Linked DNA regions of Homo sapiens: regions 2, 3, 4, 5, 6 and 7 are each linked to region 1. The links are contacts of gene promoters, found by promoter capture Hi-C in blood cells and fetal thymus (Javierre and others, 2016). All regions are on one chromosome and are shown on one strand. The core of a region is centred on a gene start or on the middle of the fragment in contact, and the rest is flanking DNA. Distances in the headings are between cores, read along the strand shown.

What was found. Contacts are between HindIII fragments. The CHiCAGO score rates a contact against its expected background, and 5 or more counts as called.
Region 2: a fragment that was not itself captured here is called in contact with the fragment with the promoter of CLYBL-AS2 in region 1 in 6 of 17 cell types (total CD4 T cells, total CD8 T cells, activated CD4 T cells and 3 more); the score reaches 6.0 in total CD4 T cells.
Region 3: a fragment that was not itself captured here is called in contact with the fragment with the promoter of CLYBL-AS2 in region 1 in 7 of 17 cell types (non-activated CD4 T cells, M1 macrophages, M0 macrophages and 4 more); the score reaches 6.2 in non-activated CD4 T cells.
Region 4: a fragment that was not itself captured here is called in contact with the fragment with the promoter of CLYBL-AS2 in region 1 in 6 of 17 cell types (non-activated CD4 T cells, total CD8 T cells, activated CD4 T cells and 3 more); the score reaches 6.7 in non-activated CD4 T cells.
Region 5: a contact is called between a fragment that was not itself captured here and the fragment with the promoter of CLYBL-AS2 in region 1, in 7 of 17 cell types (total CD8 T cells, naive CD8 T cells, megakaryocytes and 4 more). The highest score is 7.6, in total CD8 T cells.
Region 6: a contact is called between a fragment that was not itself captured here and the fragment with the promoter of CLYBL-AS2 in region 1, in 5 of 17 cell types (non-activated CD4 T cells, activated CD4 T cells, total CD4 T cells and 2 more). The highest score is 7.3, in non-activated CD4 T cells.
Region 7: a contact is called between a fragment that was not itself captured here and the fragment with the promoter of CLYBL-AS2 in region 1, in 1 of 17 cell types (total CD4 T cells). The highest score is 6.1, in total CD4 T cells.

Annotation. Positions count from the first base shown.
Region 1 is chr13:99,689,318-99,692,223 of GRCh38, reverse strand. It overlaps CLYBL-AS2 (CLYBL antisense RNA 2), which reads left to right and starts at 1,253. Exons shown (of 2, transcript NR_046526.1): 1 at 1,253-1,671; 2 at 1,868-2,126. The region is part of intron 1 of CLYBL (citramalyl-CoA lyase); the gene reads right to left. LOC124903199 (a long non-coding RNA gene) reads right to left here. Exons shown (of 2, transcript XR_007063848.1): 2 at 1,855-2,906. RefSeq lists an enhancer at 1-74 and a silencer at 1,115-1,409. The HindIII fragment of the contact is 1,922 bases long and covers 1,009-2,906 here.
Region 2 is chr13:100,250,037-100,252,887 of GRCh38, reverse strand. All of the region lies in intron 8 of PCCA (propionyl-CoA carboxylase subunit alpha), which reads right to left. Among named protein-coding and RNA genes, the nearest start is that of PCCA, 160 kb to the right of the region's middle. The HindIII fragment of the contact is 865 bases long and covers 1,156-2,020 here.
Region 3 is chr13:100,560,125-100,563,078 of GRCh38, reverse strand. All of the region lies in intron 2 of GGACT (gamma-glutamylamine cyclotransferase), which reads left to right. Among named protein-coding and RNA genes, the nearest start is that of GGACT, 27 kb to the left of the region's middle. The HindIII fragment of the contact is 926 bases long and covers 955-1,880 here.
Region 4 is chr13:100,520,620-100,523,418 of GRCh38, reverse strand. The region is part of intron 22 of PCCA (propionyl-CoA carboxylase subunit alpha); the gene reads right to left. Among named protein-coding and RNA genes, the nearest start is that of PCCA-AS1, 41 kb to the right of the region's middle. The HindIII fragment of the contact is 2,434 bases long and covers 141-2,574 here.
Region 5 is chr13:100,542,958-100,545,657 of GRCh38, reverse strand. The region is part of intron 2 of GGACT (gamma-glutamylamine cyclotransferase); the gene reads left to right. Among named protein-coding and RNA genes, the nearest start is that of GGACT, 44 kb to the left of the region's middle. RefSeq lists enhancers at 1-438, 439-1,162, 2,593-2,700. The HindIII fragment of the contact is 3,006 bases long and covers 1-2,700 here.
Region 6 is chr13:100,499,589-100,502,491 of GRCh38, reverse strand. The region is part of intron 21 of PCCA (propionyl-CoA carboxylase subunit alpha); the gene reads right to left. Among named protein-coding and RNA genes, the nearest start is that of PCCA-AS1, 20 kb to the right of the region's middle. The HindIII fragment of the contact is 3,536 bases long and covers 1-2,903 here.
Region 7 is chr13:100,461,711-100,464,655 of GRCh38, reverse strand. The region is part of intron 21 of PCCA (propionyl-CoA carboxylase subunit alpha); the gene reads right to left. PCCA-AS1 (PCCA antisense RNA 1) reads left to right here. Exons shown (of 5, transcript NR_047686.1): 5 at 86-219. Among named protein-coding and RNA genes, the nearest start is that of PCCA-AS1, 18 kb to the left of the region's middle. The HindIII fragment of the contact is 4,063 bases long and covers 1-2,945 here.

The sequences.
Region 1 (2,906 bases), core at 4-2,503:
AATGCAATGGGAGGTCAGTGTGGGGAGTAATTGTGACTAAGGGGCAGGGCTGGCATATGTAATGCGTCTGCTGGCATTAAGCACAACTTGTGGATTCTAAGCACTTTCTTAAAATGAAAGAATGAGTGAAGAAAACAAATCACTGGATTTACTGTTCACTTCCAGGCTATCATATCCATCCTGGCTATGAAGGATGTACACTGAGTTTCTACGTTCTGAAACTGTTATTACTTAGGCACAGTCCACAGAAAGATCAGTCTGAAAACTCAGGGACCGGGAGCTCCGTGCAACATGGCTTTCAAGATCCTAGAAACTCTCGCTCTGTGTTCCCACCACCCTGGGCTGTTTCTTCATCCCATGGGTCCTTCTGTATTTATTTGTCCTTTGCACTGTGATGATTTGGAGGCAGTGACTACGCCTTTTATCTCTGTATCCCTAGAACCAGCAGCACATAGAAGGGACTTGCCAGGTGACTGCGGAAGAAGGGAGGAAGTCGCTATTAGCTTATGAGGAGCTTATAGTCTAAGTTTCAAGCTTTCTCATTTCTCCATTTTCTTATCACGTACAGTGATTACACTAAAAATACTCTGGTACCCTAGTGCTGGTTTTTTGTTTTTTGTTTTTTGGTTTTTTTTTTAGGTCAAAATGGGTCACACAGTGGCAATTTCATATGACTCAATCTAACACAAAGTCACTAGAAAGAATGTCTTTCGGGTCCCATTTCATGATACAAAATGGTTTTTAAACGTCGTTCCCTGAAGATCCTTTGGGGAGCACCAACAGAGAGATAATGGGGAGTGATTCTGATCCCCAACTGTCCCCTTCCCCCCCAAATTTTTAGAGTTTCTATGTAAGAGTTGGTTTGAACAAAAGACTTGTGTCTAAAAATTAGTTTGTAACTAATTTATTTATAGTATTTATAACTCTAGATAACTTAGATATTGATTAAGAAAATATCCCCCAAAACATGTTCTTTAGATCAAGGAAATAAAAAGTAATGCTTAAGCTTTTTGTTTCAGTTCATTGGAAAGCTACAGTGCTTACACATTTTTATGCTGTCTACCATCAGTGCATCTAGGGAAGGGCATCTATGGATGAGGCTACCATGTGGGAAATTCTTGAGTGGGCAGTGAGAGAGGGTTAGCAACTCAAAGCAAGTAATCCAAGGGTTAATCAGGAGAGACACTCAATCCAGAAAGTGCTCATTAACCCAAGCCTTTCTGCATAGTGTCCCTACCACCCTGCTGCCTCTAACTAAACAAAACACGGTAGGTCTCAGTGTGAGAGAGCGCTTTTGTTCACATAGGAGGCTGACAGCTATTTGCGATGAGGGGTTTTTGTTTGTTTGTTTGTTATTCAAATAACTTTTTTCCCCCTGAGGAAACTGAAAGGGAAAATGTCAGAAGTATGTGATTAATGATTTTTTAAAATAGATGGGATCTCCCCGGTTGAATTGAAAAGTAGGTACTGAAAAAGAATCCATTTCTAAATGGTAGATTTTCATATGTAAGTTTGATATTAATTCTTTCAAAAGAGTTGTGCCTGTGAGTCAGATAAATGACAGGAAGGTCTGTCTAAATACCAGCATCCTCGGAAGGGCAGCTGTTCAGAAACATTCTCAAATCATGAAGATAAATAGAACCGGAACACTGATGATTCCATCAACTGATGGTGAGGGAAACATCCAATTCTATCTTAACCTCCAAGCTGTGCGGTATTACGGTGCTTCCTAAAATGCTTTTAAATAAATACACAAAAAAGCCCGTGTTTGCTGGGGATGGGGGAAGTTGGTGATTGGGTTTGGGGGGCACAGGGAAGAGAAGTAGAGAGGAAAAACATACACCAAAATCTATGTTCCTTTTTTAAGGTTCCTTTTAATCAGATCTTAAAGCAAAGACAGAAGCTGAAAACATTTCTAGTAAATAAAAAGCAAAGAACTCTGAATGCTTAGCCGACCAGAACCCCGGAAGGAGCCCGCCTGGTACTGCCAGGCATGACTGCCTTTAGTGGATTTAACAATAAAAAAGAAGATGGCGCCAAATGACCAAACTACATGCGACTTTCCCTTCCCGCAAGAAAAGTGAATAAAACTTTCCACTGGGGCTGGGGGAGGAGGCAAGGGACCAGTCCAGAGAGATAAAATGCTACTTAACAAAACAATGTGGATAGCATTTAGGCCACATGTAAATTTCATCCACAGAGCTTGCAAATGGCATGCAATTTACTGCTCAGAGGATGTAACCTATTTGAGTCTAGAGAGCTAATTAATAACACAGTCTAAAAAGAACGCAGAGTTAATCGCCATCCATCTCCTGGGCTATTTTAACTTGTTTTTTTGACAGTTGCTGTTAAACAAAATTCTAAATATTGTTATAGCAGTCAGTTATTAGTTACCTTAACAAGATGCAAGTTTGGTGTTGGTCAAAGTTAAATCCTTTTAAAAAAAATACTTGAAAAAGTTGAAGCTGCTCTCCTCTTTAGAGCTTGTTCTGTGATGGATAAAAATTGCATCTATAAAGGTTTCAAGTCAGGTCACATTTAGAAAGTAATAGTAAATAACAGTAACTGGTAAACACAGTCCTAAGTCTTACTTGCAATTGCTCAAGTTGAAACAATTGAATACAGTCTTCAAAAATCATACTCTCATTTACAGATATGACTGGGCACATGGGATTTCAATCATGCTCCTTCATTGCTGAGAATCATGGAATTAAAATGGTAATAATTTTTACCTCTCACTTTTCTCTTGCCTTTTTCTTCCTTTAAGCATACCTGCACTAAGTAATTTTTGCTTTTCACTGATAACAAGAGAAGTTAGAGCCAGATTATTTTCTCTGGGACAACCTGTCTGTGATTGCAAGAATATAGTTCAAAACATCCTACAACTGGTATATGTGTAGCCCACC
Region 2 (2,851 bases), core at 339-2,838, 560 kb before region 1:
TGTGCAATGAATGAATGGTGAAAGGGCAAAGGTAGAAACAAGGAGCTGATGAGGAAGCCTTTGCAGCAGTCCAGCTAGCAACAGAGATAGAGAGAAAGACAAAGACTAGAGTTAGCGACAGTTTGGATGTGGAAGATAAGGGGATGAATGAAGGAAGATTCTAGGAGCTTAGGAGATTTTCCATTTAGTTATGGATTCCAAGTTAAAAAGAATTATCTTTTTTGACCAACTGATAATGTCACATTTACCTACTCAAGACACAATAAATAACCTTACTTTTCAAGCAAAACCCAAGCCACACATGGTAGCACAACCTGGTAACTTAAAAGCTGATAAAATGACACCCTATTGATGCAACAGTGGTACGCTGTATAATAAAGAATCTTATGTGGTTTTCTCACCTACAATTTCTTGAATTAAAATTTCATAGAATATACTAATGGGAAAGGAAAAATAAAAAGAAGGGAAAAGAAAAGTATTTCTTAGAAAATGTCTTATTCCTAATCCAGCGGTACTAATCAGAAATCTCTCATGAATCAAGGAGATGTGATGGGGAATGGGGATCTTCTTTAAATAACCAATTGCAAAACACCTATAATTAACTACAAGGCCTTTGTTTCCTCAAGGAAAGGTCCAAGGTAAAAAGAAAACAAAAGATATTTCAGGAAGTTGAACAGTCCTCTAGATGGATAGAATAGGCCCTGATATGGGTAATAGGACCTCAGAAGAGAAAAGACACCCCACTCCGAGAAAGAACTAGGACAGAAAGGAAGGAAATCCCCAGATGAAAGTTGCTCATGAGAATTACATAGATAGTACGCATTGCTTTGTTTCGTTTCTTTGTGCTCCTCTAATGTAAAGTAGTTCACTTGCCTTTTGAACCCCCTCAGCCTCCCCAGAAGGGAAAGTGTGGGTTTGTGTTTGTTGTTTTGTGCTGATGGCGGGGGGAGTTCTTCATGACCATGATATTTCTGAAGAACCCAGGGTGGTTGTTTGATAGAATATTCCACAATTTGAATATACCTGATTATTCACTCATTAAATTCAAGATGTTTAACAAATCTTAAATACAACATAGTTGATATTGTATCCTCGAGTTCTTCCATCGCATCAAAAGTAAAATAAAAAGTCAATTTATCCCAAACTGATAAAGCTTGATTACTTAAGATGGCATCCATTAAATTTCCTCACAGAAAGTATGCCATTTTTTCTTAGCAAATAATCTGTAGATTGATACTTTGAAACTGTGATGATCCTATATCCAAACAATTTTCACCCATTATTAAAAATGAACTTTAATGATTCTTGCTTTAGTCAATATCTACATTGTTCACTGCACAATGATTAAAAAAACATAAAGACAAAGATCTTTGCCTGTCTTCTTTGTTGTTTCTGCAGTGGCTGAAACTGCCTAAAGAATAACATGCAAAGTAAGAGTTACTAAGTAAATCTATTAGTTAATCTGAGCAGCTGTAAGTCATTATTTTTACTGCTGTAATCTATGTCACCTACAAACATACTGCAGCATTATCCATTCCACTGTGAATGAACATTCAGACTGTAACCTGTTCTATTTATATAACAATGGTCCTTTGAATATTTTTGTACTTGTTGTCTGGAACTTTGTATATGAGCTTCCTGGATCTATGTGTAAGAGCACAACTGCTGGATAGTATGAAACTCTTATAAATTCTTTATTTAAAAAGATCAAATCTATTCACTTTTCTTTATCTCAGTTATCATAATACTTAATCATAATACTTACACAAACTACCAGCAGTCCAGGACTCTTGTACTGGCCTACTAGCAGAACTCCCCACTACTACAGTTGCCCCCATCCAAGCCACATAGTGGTCAGTGAAATTTTCTTAAGGTATATATACTATTATATCTCTCTCCTGCCTACATCTTTCATGGGTTTACATTATACTACGAAAAAACCATAGACGTATAATGAAATAGAAATTATGAACCAAAGGACAGGAAGTGTGACGGGTAGAGAGACAGCATAATACAAGCTTGTTTAATCAGAACACGAGAAAGGACTATGCTAGACTTGCCCTAAGAAAACTTTTTTAAAGCCTAAAAGGCCTTAACCTAAACAAAATTAATGTACCTGCCAGACTAAACATCTATACCTTTTAAATAAAGGTAACAAAATCCAAACACACAATGTAACATTTACAATGTCTAGAATCCAATCAACAATTAAGAGATAGGTAAAGATGCAAAATGTGATTCATATCAGAAGGAAAATAGCTGACAGAAAGAAACCCAGAAATGAAGACTCTTAAAACAGTTGTTACAAATACTATTATAAGTTACAGCTATTACAAACAGGTAAAATGATTTGGAGAAAAAAATAAACATGATGAGATAAATAAGAAAAAAGCAAACATTTTAAAATTAAGTTTTTAGATATTAAAATGACTAAAAAATCCAATAATATATAAAAAGAATTATATACCATGACCAAATGGGATTTAATCCTGGTATGCAAAGCTGATTCAACATCCAAAAATCAATTAATGTAATCCATCACATTAACAGGCTAAAGAAGAAAAATCCTATGATCATATAAATAGATGCAGAAAAAGCATTTAACAAAAATCAACAATCACTGAGTTTAGCAAACTAGGAATAAAGAGAAATTTCTTGTACTTGATAAAGAATATACACAAAAAGCCTACAGTTAACATTACACTTAATGACAAGAAACTGGATGCCTTCTCCCAAAAATCAGGAAAAATACAAGAATGTCCCCTCTTACAACTCTTATTCAACATCTGACTGCAGATTCCAGCTTATGAAGTATGTTAAGAAAAGGAAATAAAGAGTAAACAGACTGGAA
Region 3 (2,954 bases), core at 168-2,667, 870 kb before region 1:
GTTCAGAAGTCCAAGATCAGGGGCCGGCAGGGTTGGTTTCTCTGGAAGCCTCTGCTTGGCTTGATTTATATAAGTAAGATTGTGTGGAGTCTGCTTGCAATTCAAGGCAAGTAACGCTTTGACTTGCTTTCTTTTTTAGCACATGGCAGTGGGGGCCCAGGCAGGGGAACGGGAGCTCTTTTTTTGGGGTTGTTAGGAGTTTGAACTCTGGAGTCAAGAAACCACCCAAGTTTAAGGCTGTGCCTTTTCTTTTTTCTTTTCTTTTTTTTCTTTTTTTTTTTTTGAGACATTGTCTCGCTGTGTTGCCCAGGCTGGAGTGCAGTCGCGTGATCTCAGCTCACTGCAACCTCCGCCTCCTGGGTTCAAGTGATTCTCGTGCCTCAGCCTCCCAAGTAGCTGGGATTACCGGCATGCACCACCATGCCTGGCTAATTTTTGTATTTTTAGTAGAGACGGGGTTTTACTATGTTGGCTGGGCTGGTCTCAAACTCGTGACCTCAGGTGATCTGCCTGCCTTGGCCTCCCAAAGTGTTGGAATTACAGGCGTGAGCCACCACACCTGGCCTCATGTGCCTCTCTTACCAGTGGTGTGACTTTGGGTGAGTTGCCTGTGCTGTCTGTCCCAGTGTCCTCTGAGTGCTGTGAAGGTGGGTGAAGTATATTTGGTGAATCACAGGTACTGCGTGAGGTGCCAGGCATGATCCTTGCTGGTGCCAGGTTTGAAGAAAATGGTGTTTGTGCAAGGAAAAATTTTTTTTTCTGTGCAAAACTAAGGTGTATTTATGAAAATGGAAATCAAGTCTTAGCCCTTCACCGAGCTTAGTTGTAGAGAATATCTAGGGTAGTTTCTGTCGGGGTCCACACAGGCAGTGGACAGGGGCTTGCCGTTTTATAGAAGAATAAAATTTCACAACTTCTGTGTACTTCCAGTAATTTGAGCTTTAGGTTGAAGCTTGCGAGGTAGGCAAGGTAAGAGTTTCTGTCCCTATTTAGAGGCACCTAAACCCCAGTGAGGCAAAGTGAGTCACCCAGGAGCTGCCTGGAATCTGGTCCTTTCGAACCCACTGTTGGGCACAGCCTCCTCCGGGGCATGCAGACTCTGCCGCATGACCTTTGAGCAGAGTTAATGATTTCCTATTTGTTTTATTTCATTCAAAACAACTGTCATTGCTTGAACCCACCCATGCTGGGCACTTGTATACTCCCAGGGGATCCCACTCCCCCACTCTGGGAAGTGCCAGGGTCTCACTGGACAGAGAAGGAGATCCAGGATGAGAGGTTCAGTCATTTGCCAAGGTCGTGAGCCCCAGCCCCCCACTGAGCAGCACCTCTGCCCCTCCAGGGTCCTGGGTTGGAGGTGTGAAGGGCATCCCGGGCCCTCCCACTGCTGGGTTCTTCTAAGTACAGGAATGTCTGCTGCACACATCTTCTGAAGATAGCATTCTCTTGATCTGAGAAGGGAACCAGTACCACTTGCTGGGTGTTTAGCCAGCACTGCACATTTCAGAATCTCATCCTGGTGTTAATAGCCCCAGGTAAGACAAGGCCACATGTCCAGGAAAGCCTTCTGTGGGAAGACACTGCATTAAGATAGCTCAAAATCGGGGTGAAGAGGCAGGAGGCAGGGCTTACCATCTTCATCCATCAACTATTAACTTTATGATAGAAACCATTTCAGTGTTATTTTTGTTTGCTATGGATCTATACAGAATTGCATTATTTTAATGCTTTATTGAGAAATAATTCACATACCATACAGTTCACCACCATTACCAAGTCAGATGTAAGCAGCTCTCTGGGGCTGTTCCTAATATGGAAGTGTTGCTTATACCAGAAAATGATAACCAAAATGAAATATAACACAACGTTCAAGGAAAGCTTGTAGATAATCATTGGTAAAATAATAGCAATGGAGCTGGAAATACTGAAATGGAGAGGTTAAAATGCCCGGGGCGGGGGTATTGCTGCTTGATGAGACTTAGGAGGGCGTAGCCACAAGCTTCACCATGAATGTAGTCAGGAGCCGGGGGAAGAGGCACGTGTTCCTGGGCTGTGTGGATGAGTGGTCTAGGAGGCGTGCTTGTGATGAAATGACAGCCCACCAGCCCACTATCCCAGGCCCTGGAGGAGATGCGGGGTGCGCAGCCTGGGCTGTCAGAGATGTTCACAATTGCAAAGATTCTGACCCATATTTTGCCCCACACATCCGTCTTGCTAGAGCATGTGTCCTGGTTCTTTAGAAAATCACTCCGTTGTACTTTAGGACACCATGTCCTAGGAACACACTGACACCAAAAACCTTGGCCAAGAGTCAGAAAAACAAAGCTAGATTATGTGAGGGAATGGAAATGTCCAGAATAAAACCTGGGGAGGCTAAAGGGATCGCGTGGAGCTCAGTGACAGCAGAGCTGCAAAGCTGCAACCCTCCTCAGCCAGGAGTGGCCCCAGTGAAAGCAATGGATACAAGCCCACAGGGCACGTTCCCAGCGCAGCCCTCAGGGCCTGGGAGGGCCACACAGCTCCCACGGATGCTCACTCCCTGTCCATTCCCTGTTGGCCCTGGAAGTAGACTTGAGTTAAGCTCCTGGGTAAAGGGCTAAGAAGGGAGAATATGAAGAGACTTCTAGCCATATTCACTCAAATAGGAGAGAGGAACAGACGGGCCTGTGTGGCAAAGAAGAAAAGGCTTAATGTTTATGGAGCAGCAACACGCTGCAGAAAAGCGAGTCAGATCCTGGGGGATCAAAGGACTTTGTTCAGATGCTGCTGTTGAGGAAGGGCTTCTCCCCAAAATAATTCAGCTTTTTTGATTTACAGACAAAATTTACTCACTTACTGTTTAAAGTTCAGTGCGTTTTTTTAAAGGGTCAACGAATCTTGATAAATATATATACTCATGTAATCACGACCGCATTCAAGATACAGGCCTGTCCATCTCCCCAAAAGCTTCCTGC
Region 4 (2,799 bases), core at 108-2,607, 830 kb before region 1:
TGGATATAGGCTGCCAATTTTCCAGTTTTACTGGCAAGTCTTCCAAGTGTAATTAAGGGAAGTTATAAATGATATGGAAATCTATCAAGTTCCATTTATTTTCAGAGGACTCTTTCCCCAGAGACTTTTATCTTCAAGCTTATAGTATGCTTTGTTGTGCTAATGATTTAAACCACTTCTTATTTCTGATTAAAGCCCCCAATATCCTTCTACCAAGTTCTCTTCACTCCTTCCACAAAGATTAAAAGACAGAGAACCTTCTCCCGCACATGCCCCCTCTCAGAAAACATGCTAAGACAGGGACACATTTGGCAATGCCGATCATTCAAACTGCAGACTGCCATGACCACGAAGAACGCTCAAAGAAAGTGCAGGAAGAAAAAGAAGAGAACGGGGGAAAAAAGACCACCAAACATAAAAGGAAGCCCCCACAAGCACAGGCTTGAAAGCGGTGCTCAAGACCAGATATTCATCAGAAGGTGGTGTAGCTCACTAATGTTATTTGATTTGGAATAAAAGCATGAAAATGATGGCAAAGGCCTAAAATTGGAGATGTAAAGGATGACTGCACAGTATTCCATTTCTCAATTTCATCCTTCAGAGCCACAAAATGGGGGTGATACAGTGAGTGGATGAGATTTACAGTAACAGCTGTGGTCTCCCACACAAGGGAGGCCCTTCTAATGGGCTGAGGTCTGTTTGGAACAGACGGGGAGTAACAAAACAAGGTTCCCTATTAAGAGTGTGCAGTCGTATTTCTGATAAAGAAAATGACGAGGGAGTCAGGTCTCCTTTAAGACAGCCCATCCTCTTTTTGTTGCCCAAACCCAGGGCTGTTTTAAAGGTGTTATCGTTGAAATAGAGGCCAGGGGACGTTCACAGCATCGAGCCGCCCCGCCCCCCAGGAAGCCCACTCTCTAGCAACTGTAAGGAATGCAGAGGAAACGGTGCCAGTGGCATATGGCTTTCCACTGTGCTAAACATTCATACAAAAGACAGGTTCATCAGTCATTGGAGTATCTGGATAAAAAATTAGCTCCTGATGGATGGTATTTTGAGCTTACCTGCTGCTAGTACATTACCAGAGAAACACAGGTTTTGAAACCCACATGACATTAGAAACTGCAGACCATGAAATACGACACGTGCAGGAGCACACAATGTACGCCAGATTATACAAAATAATAAATAAGCTATTTAAACCCTCTGCCTAAAATTGGGCCCGCTGCAAGGAACCCTGGGTCACTTCTACGCAGGCCAATTAATGCACAGCATCTGCTGTACAGAAGCAGGGCATGAAGCACTTCCGAATGATTTCGGCAATTAAAAGAAAACTGTTTCCTGCCTGTTCAGACCGCAACTGTTTCGATGCAAGAGTGAGCACCAAATCACTGCGTGCAGCTGAAAAATTAAGTCCCCTTTTTGGGGAAGAAGGGTGGGTGGGAGGAAGAATTTTTATGGAAAAAGGAGGCTTCTTTTGTTGTCCTACATTCTGTGTTTTTCTGCCAAATTAGACAGAAGGCTCGGAGGGCTTACCAGCCCGCTGCAGTTTCCACTTCTGCAACGCCGGACCACCGGAAAAACACGGATCAATATCAGCCCTGGTGTCTACGCCACAAAAGTGAAAATCCCACCATTTCATTGTTAAAGGCTGGTCTGCTTGGAACACAGGTGCCTGAATGCCACACATTTTAAGGCCCTTAGATCTGAAGAAAGGTTCAGTTAACAGTCACAAAAAAAGGCATCTCAGATTGAGTGAAAAGGCACTGCCTGCTCGCATCTGATTATATTAATAGCAACTTCCTCTGAGCCGGTAAGATAGGCTGGTAAATATCCCCTGATATTTCCTGAAGAAGAAACGTGTATTCACATCCCAACATCTTCATGTAAAGCGAGACGGGGAGGAGGCCACGGGAGACTGCAGTATTTGAGCAAGGATGGAACCATCATCAAATTACAAAGACAGACCAGGCGGGCAGGAGACGCCGCCCAGCCCTTTCTCCGGCTGAAGACTCCTTTAATGGCCCATGCACGAGCGGCCTCACTCTGGAGGGCGCGGGAACCCAGGGGCCACCCGTCCAGCCCCGCTGCCGGCTCGGGACTTCAGGCACACGTGCCGTCTGCCTGGTGCTCCCCTTGTCTCTCAAGTGGGGCTCCCCAGAACTGGGCAGCACCCAAGGGGCTAAGGGTAAGAGTACAGACTTGTGGCCGATATAAAACAAGTCCAGTTTCTTTTAAAATTCCTTAAAATGAAGAAAAATATGACTCCCTGCTGCCCTCTAAGTTAGCTCAAAATCAGAGCCAAAGCCTGCAGTTACAAAGAGAACTAGTGGAAACTGATGTCATTCACAATACCTTTGGAAATTAGCCTGGACCCTCTACCTTCGTAAAGCATGCTGCCTGAAAGCGCTCCGTGAAAGGATGATTTTTTGTAAACTTTTATTTTTATTAAAAGAGAAAAAGATAGTTTACATCTTGGTAAGGCTGAGAATGGTCACTTATAAAAATGTTGAAAACAAAGAAAACACCTTCTACTCCCAAGCAGATCACTCCTGAAAAATCAAACGCCAAGCTTGGAGAAGACTCTCCTATAATATTTAATATACTGATCCACATAAATATTTTTTATTTTATAATTATCATTGAGTATATTCAACTGTAAAAATTCCCAGTACTAATAGATATTTTTTTACCTCCTCATCTTTTTCTGCCTCCTCTTATCTACTAATAGATATTTGTTACCTCCAACAAAAACCAACTCTTTTTTTTTTTTTTTTTTTTTTTGAGACGGAGTCTCGC
Region 5 (2,700 bases), core at 137-2,636, 850 kb before region 1:
AAAGACAAAATCGGGAATTTCAGGATAGTGGCAGCTTCTGAGTGCCAGTTCCATGGCACATGCCAGGCAGGCAGGCAGCCCAGGGTGTGCTTAATAAACCCTGAGGGCACCTTCTAGATTCAGGAGGCCACGGCAGATGTGACTGGAGCCTGGTATGAGGGCAGCCCAGGCCACTGGCTGCCTGGGGCCCTGGAGTGCTTGGGGGCAGTGAGGGGGTGCCCTCCTCCAGGGGCCCTGGGACGTGGAGGTCAGGAAGGAGGTCAGGAAGGGACGTGAAGGCTCTGCTGCCCTTGCCTGGGTCGCCTTGTGTGTGAGTCACTTCACCTCTGCCCCAGCTTCCCCATCTGCAAAAGGGGGGAGAAGCTGGGAGTGAAGCGGCCTCACCATGTGGTTTGGAGCACCAGGTGAAGAATGTAAGTAAAGCACTTGGCATGGGGTGGGCATGGAGTCAGGGCTCTCCCTTGGGGGTGGCGTTGATCCCCCGTGAGCCACAGGTAGGTCCGGCAAGTGGAGCCAGGTTCCTGAGGCCGTGCCTGCAGGTTGGCCCTGTGTGACGAGGTTGACGGCATCTCCAGTGTTGGGCCGCTGGCCGCCTGCCCAGCATGTGTTCCTGGCTCTGCCTCCTGCTGCCGCCTCCGCTGCGCCTTCTGAGTGTCACACCAGGAGGCAGCAGGGGCTGGCAGCACCTCCGCTCCTGCTGCCGTGCCTGGAATTTGGGGCCATGGCCCTGGCCGGTTCTCCATCCTGCCTGTTTGCATAGAGCTCGTTCCCTGGCCTGGCATCTTGGGATTTTCCAGTGATTCCTTTCCATACTTGAAGCAGACATGGGGATGCAGGGGATGGTCATGTCTGCGTTGTTGGTCACTGAACATTTTAAAGGTGGCAACACAATTGCCTTTAAAGTGATATGGCATGAAAAAAATCGTTATTTATATTTGGCATGGCCAAAGAGTAAAAACTCAAGGGATGGTTGCTGAGGAGCATTCAGGAGGCCTGGGGTGGCATCAGGGACCAAGTGTCCGTTTGATTTCACAGACCCGTAAGTGTTCAGTGTCTTGAGCGAACTGTGAAGAGGAGACCCTGGCCTCTGATTTCAAAGGCGCCAGCGTTTTACCGGGGCCGGTGCAGATAATGGAAGAAAGGTGTTTTGCCAGGGACTTTTCCGGGGTATGCAGTGGGGCTGGTGAGGGGTCTGCCTTAGCAGGAAGCCCTTGCCTTTGCTGTAAAGAAACTAGCAAGCGACAAAACGAAAGCATCAAAGAGCCAACAGGATGCGGCCCGAGCCCTCCCTGGCACGTTGCCCCGAGCCGCGCGGGGAAGAGTGACCTTAGGGCCCGCCTCGCGCACACAGGCCAGGCACAGGTTGAAAGTTCAAGGCATTTTGTTTTTTCACCTGTTTCCTACAGTTCTAAGAAACTTCTGAAGAATTAATGTGTAACTATATCAGACACTCGGCGTTTTCTCCAGGGAAAATAATGTTACAGTGGGGGAGGGAGGGGAAGTGGCTACTTGATGAGACACAAGAAGGTTTCCATAAAGTAAGAAAAACCCTCTCTAGGGGAAACGTGCACAACATCGCATGTGACTCTTACTCCATCTCCACCATGTAGAATGGCTGCGTTTGCTCAGGGCTGGCACAGTGTGGGGCTGCTGGTGGTCACAGAAGGACTAGAGCAGCAGTTGGTGTCCTTGAAACCAGTGTACAGCCGTGATCACCATGCCCTTCGTGAGTCTGGTGGGCCCAGGATCTGCTGGGGCCAATTTTGACACGAGGTATTGAATGACAAAAGCAAATTAATGCAGCAAATGTAAAGATAGAGATAAGCTCTTTGCCATGCCACCTTCTGGACCAGGAGTTTATGATTCTGATACTATTTCTCCCTGGCCAGTGGCAGAGCCCCTCTGGCAGGGGCCTGAGCTTCATGCTACCCAAGTCTAAATCATTTTACTTTTTTCTAACAAAGTCTTAACTTGCCAACTGGCAGTATGCATTGTTACTGGCTTGATATATCATGTGGAGAAAACAGATGCTTTGACATGATGACATACAGATTTTACTAACATTTCCTCCTGTCATGAAATTTTCATATAAAGATGAATATTTTCTTGAGGCACCATTTATAAAGGTGGTTTTTATGTTAGAAGCTGGTGTTGGCCAGGCGTGCTGGCTCATGCCTGCAATCTAGCACTTTGGGAGGCCGAGGTGGGCGGATCACAAGGTCAAGAGTTTGAGACCAGCCTGGCCAATATGGTGAAACCCCATCTCTACTAAAAATACAAAAATTAGCCAGGCGTGGTGGTGGGCACCTATAGTCCCAGCTACTCAGGAGGCTGAGGCAGGAGAACTGCTTGAACCTGGGAGGCGGAGGTTGCAGTGAGCCGAGATCGCGCCACTGCACTCCAGCCTGGGTGACAGAGCGACACTCCGTCTCAAAAAAAAAAAAAAAAAAAAAAAAAAAAGCTGGTGTCTTTTTAAAATCCTTTTGTAAATTAGTTTAAGAAGAGTTAAACACTAGCCCTTTCCTTGTTCGGTTCACCTGGTCTGCGTATGCATGCTTTTAAACGTGTACCAGGCATATGAAGTGGTTGTGATTTGTAAACTATCATCATAAACTCTTAAATCCTGCCTTTTACACTCTTGCCACCAGGTGGCTAAGAAAAAAGAAATCAAGAAAAAAATCTAACAGTTATGCAAAGGAC
Region 6 (2,903 bases), core at 394-2,893, 810 kb before region 1:
CATGAAATAAGACTAGGAGACATTTCCCTTGCATCTGTATAATCCAGAAACCAGGAATACTGAGTACCAGCCATTCTGTGCCGCTCTGCTCTCCTCTTGGTTAAAAATATACAGTACACACAGCCAGGGTGAGGTGGGATGAGAGGGTGCCCGTTCAGCAGGGACATCTACCCTGGCCTCTACCTTAGTGAAATCTGCCTGGATCAGGGGGCTGGGCCTCTGTTTCACAGGCTTAGAAGCTAGACTTCCACTATACACTCATAATGCATCACTCTGAACGAGATGGATTCACTTTTATCAAGCTCACAAGATACTGATGTGTAAAACATCTTAGGAATTTACAATCAGAAATAGGTTTGTAAAGGGAACTCACACACCTCCTAACTGTAGTGTGAGCACTAAATTATAGTCAGTGGTTCTTTGATAAATACAGAATCAGCAGAAGAGGCACTGGCTGAAGTGCTCTCCACCAAGACAGCATAAGCAGCAGTTCTCAATCACCAAAGCATCAAAACTTGCCTGGAGGGCTAGTAAAACCACAGACCGCTAGGCCCCCCACCTGAGTTTCCAATTCAGGTTTGGGTGCATTTTATTTATTTATTTATTTATTTATTTATTGAGAAGGAGTGTCCCTCTGTTGCCCAGGCTGGAGTGCAGCGGCACGATCTCAGCTCAGCCCAACCTCCGCCACCCGGGTTCAAGTGATTTTCCTGCCTCAGCCTCCCAAGTAGCTGGGATTACAGGTATGCGCCACCATGCCCGGCTAATTTTTTTGTATTTTTAGTAGAGACGGGGTTTCACTATGTTGGCCAGGCTGGCCTCAAACTCCTGACCTCGTGAGCCACCCGCCTCGGCCTCCCAAAGTGCTGGGATTACAGGCGTGAGCTGCCACACTGGGCCTGGGGTCTGCATTTCTAGTGAGTTCCCAGGAGACGCTGAAGCTGCTGGTCTGAGGACCACACTGTGGGTGAACAGAAGGCCTTCTCCATTATGGAATGGCCTTTCCCAGGGAATTTAGCTCATGTCCATGAGAAGGCTTTCTTCTCCTAGACTCAGCTGACAATGCGCTGCTGGAGAAGGCTTTTCTGATAGTAGACAATGGAGACTCAGAAGGGTGACGGGGTGGGAGGAGGGTGGATGATGAGAAATTACTTAATGGGTACCATGTACATTAGTCAGGTGATGAATATCTAAAAGCCTTGACTTCCTCTCTATTCAATCTATGCATGTCACAAATTTACACTTGTACCTCGTAAGTTTACATAGATAAAATAATTTCAAAAAGTATGTATGACTCTTGTTCTAGGTAGAAAAATCTCTGAGTGACACATTTTTTCTTTTTTTTAAGAGTCTCACTCTGTTGCTCAGGTTGGAATGCAGTGGCATGATCTTGGCGATCTTGGCTCACTGCAACCTCCGCCTCCCAGGTTCAAGCAATTGTCCTGCCTCAGCCTCCCGAGTAGCTGGGACTACAGGCACCCACCACCACACCCGGCTAATTTTTGTATTTTTAGTAGAAACGGGGTTTCACCATATTGGCCAGGCTGGTCTCAAACTCGTGACCTTGTGATCTACCCGCCTCGGCCTCCCAAAGTGCTGGGATTACAGGCGTGAGCCACTGCGCCCAGCTAAAGAAACATCTTTAAAGTATCTTTTGCATAAATTCAGTCTTGCTTATTTGATGTCTCAAGATTTGGGGAGTGTTTTGGTGTCTACAGTTACTACCCCATTAATTTTTCTCTGGCCTCAATGTTGCTGTCCCTAAATTGGATCAAATATATTCTTAGAAGGGTGAGATTAGGAAAGGAACTCGTTAATATAGACTGAAGGCCTCTCTAGTCTGTAAGTAACCTTAATATTCTGAGACTGGAGAATACCACCGTGCTCACTATCTTCTGGGAGAGAGGTTCTCTTTAAATGTTTACAGATTTCAGATGAGCTGAAACCAGCCTTAACTGCTCAATATTTGGGCAACTGGGGACTGTTCGTTTGATCTTTTGGTTTATTAAAAACTATGGGGAAGCTAACAAGTCTTAGAAAATTTAGCAAGGTAACTTTAAATGGAATGCACATGTTATTATTACATGAACTAATTAGTATAAATTCCTTGAAAAGAAACTTTAATATTAAAACATATATAAATATATCCTTAAGGAGAGTTCTGGTCTCAACAAATAATAACAAAATATAAGCGCCAGACCACCACTGCCCTTGGTCTGGTGTCTGCAAGAGGAAATGACACACTGAAGAGCTGGACTTTCATTTGACTTTCAACCGTACTACAATCTTACTAGAATGTGGAGAGCCTGGTGATTCCATCCATTTTAACACTGATCGCCTCAATCTGAAGACAGTCTCAGGGGAAAATGGACTGAGCCACAATTGTTTAGCTTTTTTCCTGGGTGGTAAGTAAGATTCCATTCTTGCCCAATTTCTTACTTCAATTAGATTCAGAGGTAGAATAGTCTAAAGATAGATTCCAAATACTATCTCTCTCATCTTTAAAAAAAGAAAAAATGAATCTGTTATTCCTTTTCCCCAAACGACAGAAGCATGATTTCATTGTATTTTCCTTCAAAACTGTGGCCAATAAAATGCTAGCACCTCCAAAAAAAGTCTCAAGCAACCTGTGAATTAGAAACACAAGAAATATTTTTTCCTTTGCTTCTCCTATGTTATTTTGAAAACTGTGAAAGAAAAAACCTTTTTAAAATGTCAAATATACTTGTCTTGCTTACATTCAGATGTATGCAAAGTTCACTGAGGCGTAGGTCTTATTTTTGTCACTAGACATAATGGGACAGATGTGCTTCTGCAACAGAGGTACGGATGCAGCATGCAGCAGTCTATCCCAGAAGCTCTGTAAACAAACACTCTTTATCCCAAGGAGGCAGGATATGAAA
Region 7 (2,945 bases), core at 121-2,620, 770 kb before region 1:
TTAAGGGGTCATAACCAGGGGATTAACACAAATTTGGTTTTTCAAATAAAAGGGAACAATATTTTCCCTCTGGATTTTTCTGTAGGCCAAGCACCAAATTGAAGACTCGGTGGAGACTATCACTTCAGATGATAGCATGTCTCCAAGCAAGACAAATGAAAGGGAAAATGAAGCAAAGGGAGAGTGGGGAGCTACAATAAAAACCGAGCTATTCTTTGCCAAGTGCCTGCTATTTTCAGGCATTTTACAAACGTTTTCTTTTTCAGCCCTTGCCATCTCCATAAAAGCAGATAATATCTATTCTGTTGATGAAAAAATTGAGGACCAGGGAGGTTAGGCAACCTGTTCAAATTCACAAAGCTAAGAGACAGGTGATCTGCGATTCAAATGCAGGAAGACAAACTCTACTTATTCCTCCCCCACCCCTGCCCGATCCTGTTCACTAGCAATCTGGCAGTGGTTCGTGGTAATTTCCTGTGAACACATAACTTGTAATCTCAAATATTTTAAATGGAAAACACTGCAAGAAGTATTCCATGTCTAATTTTTACCACTCACTCTAAGGTGTGCTATGGCTTATTCATCTTAGCAATTGAATGGAATCAAGTAAGCTGACATATGTAGAATCATTCTAAAGCCCTAAAGCACCATACACGCGTAAGGCATTATTTATAAATATTAATTTTACTTTGAAGATCTTTGGCAGGTGGCAACAGATCCTGAGATACTTTGAAATAACTTAGTGATACCCTAGGATACTGTGAAATCATAACTGAGGTTACAATGAACTGGCTTCTAATAGTATATATAAATGATTTCAATAATAAACATGTCATCATTTTGTAAGTGACTCCATTAGAGAGGACAAGCCTCCACCTTAGCTGTGGGCATTTCCTGGAGCTCCATTCTGGGCCTGGCCTCTGCTTTGCCATTGTCCCTTTGGCAGGTTCATCTACTGCATGGCTTAGGACCTCACCTCTGCTGGGGCATCAACTTACGTGCTCACTCTTAATCTTCTTCTTGCTCTCCAGACCAGAAATTTCCCTTATATCATAGATGTCTCTTGGCATTTCAAACTTAAATTGGTTAAATCCATCTTTTTAATAGAGTCCACCTTTTCTCTGGTACAATTCTTCTCTTCTTCCTGTTTTTCCTCCCTAACTGCATCAGTTATCACCTCTAGAAATCTCAGAATTATCTTCAATTCTGCCCAATACATAGAATTGTACACTGGATTCTAAAGAAGTGGCTCTCAAATGTACCCTCTTCTTTCTTTGCCTACTCCCATAAGTTGTCAAAAAAAAAAAAAAAAAAAAAAACCACACCAATAAAACCAACCACCTCTGATGAGATTATGATTCTTCTTTCAACTCCTTCAATGAACCTCAGAATCTAGGGAATGCCACCCAACCTCCTTGGAATGGTCTTGTGTCATCTTGCCCCCAACAGACTAATTTCATCTTCCAAAGGGATCTTTGTTGCCCTGCCCATCACCCTCATAAGCCAATCTGCTCTTCCTTAAACACTTGGGACATCTTAATACCTCTGCGCCTTTATTAATTTCATTCCGTCCTCTTTCTCCATCATCAGTACAGAGTGCAGTTTCTACAACCTGCTATCTCCAGGCTCACTGTTCCCTCTATCTGAAATGCCTTCTCCTGCAAACTCAATTCATCCTTAAAGTCACAGCATGAGCTATAAACACTGAAAAACTGTTCACAATTTCTCCACTTTCTTCACCTCAGCCCCAGAATCCCTCTACTTCGTATACACCTCTGTTAGCGTTCTTATCACGGTAATCAGTCATTTACATTTCTCTATCCTTAGGTGACAATGGGCCCAATGACTGCAGGGATATTTGTTTCCTTTGAATTGCCAGAATTCAGTGTCTGTCACCAGTGTAAGATGACTGACTGACTCTCATGACTACCATTAAATGCTAGGTTTTGTGCTCATTTTCAAAAAGTAATGTCTAATAAGATATGAAATACAGTTCTTCTTTTCCCTGTGTTTATTGAGGTGTACTTGACAAATAAAATGCAAATTCTTAACCAGAGACCTACGCCCTATGGACTGTACTGTTTATCAATAAAAGAAACAAATAATAAAGCTAACAGATCTACAATTCGCTCTGCTACTATATAAGCCTATGCATTACCCATCTCAGCACTGATACCATGTTTGCATGGTATCAGTTTGTCTGTCTTCACCAGCCAGTGTGCTACTTAAGGGTAGGGACCAAGTCATGTTCAACTAACCCACTTCCTAGCACATAGTATAGCAGGCAGGCAATGATTTCTTTTAAATTTTTGTTCAGAATGCATCACACTGCAATACTAATAACCAAACTTTTATATTATATAGAGCATGCCAATTTCAAAAGAATAAAAACGTAGTTATATTCCAAAAGTTCATTCTTAGCTTGGTTACATGGCACACAGAACACACATTACCACAGAAACAATGTTCAAGATTAAGACTACATTTATATTCCATTTCATAAAATCTTATTCTACCCATATTTTGCCTGAAATTTTGTATATTTAGGGGCAAATGCAGGAAGGAATGCTATAGATTTTCTTAGCACTGTAAAATATATCTGAACATCAGAAAACTTCATCACCCCTCCACAAAGTGTCTGCTCTGTGACCGCCACCTGCTTCCTATTGTTGGACTAGAAAAGGGTCAGGAATACAAAGAGTGTGACCGAGCAGGGAGGAAGCCCTGTGGAGTTGAGGGTAAACAGACTAGAAAGGCTCTGGTTTCTATGCCAGATACTTTCTATCCGTTTCTCTTTTCCCCTCCAGAGAAAGTGGGGACCAATGCAGCTTGGGTAGGCAGGTAACTGCCAAGAGCCAACTCAGCCAGATGACCCACCAAACCACAGCACAAGCAGACAGCCTACCCTAGCAGGACTTGGAGCAGCTGCAAAGGCAGGCAGGGAC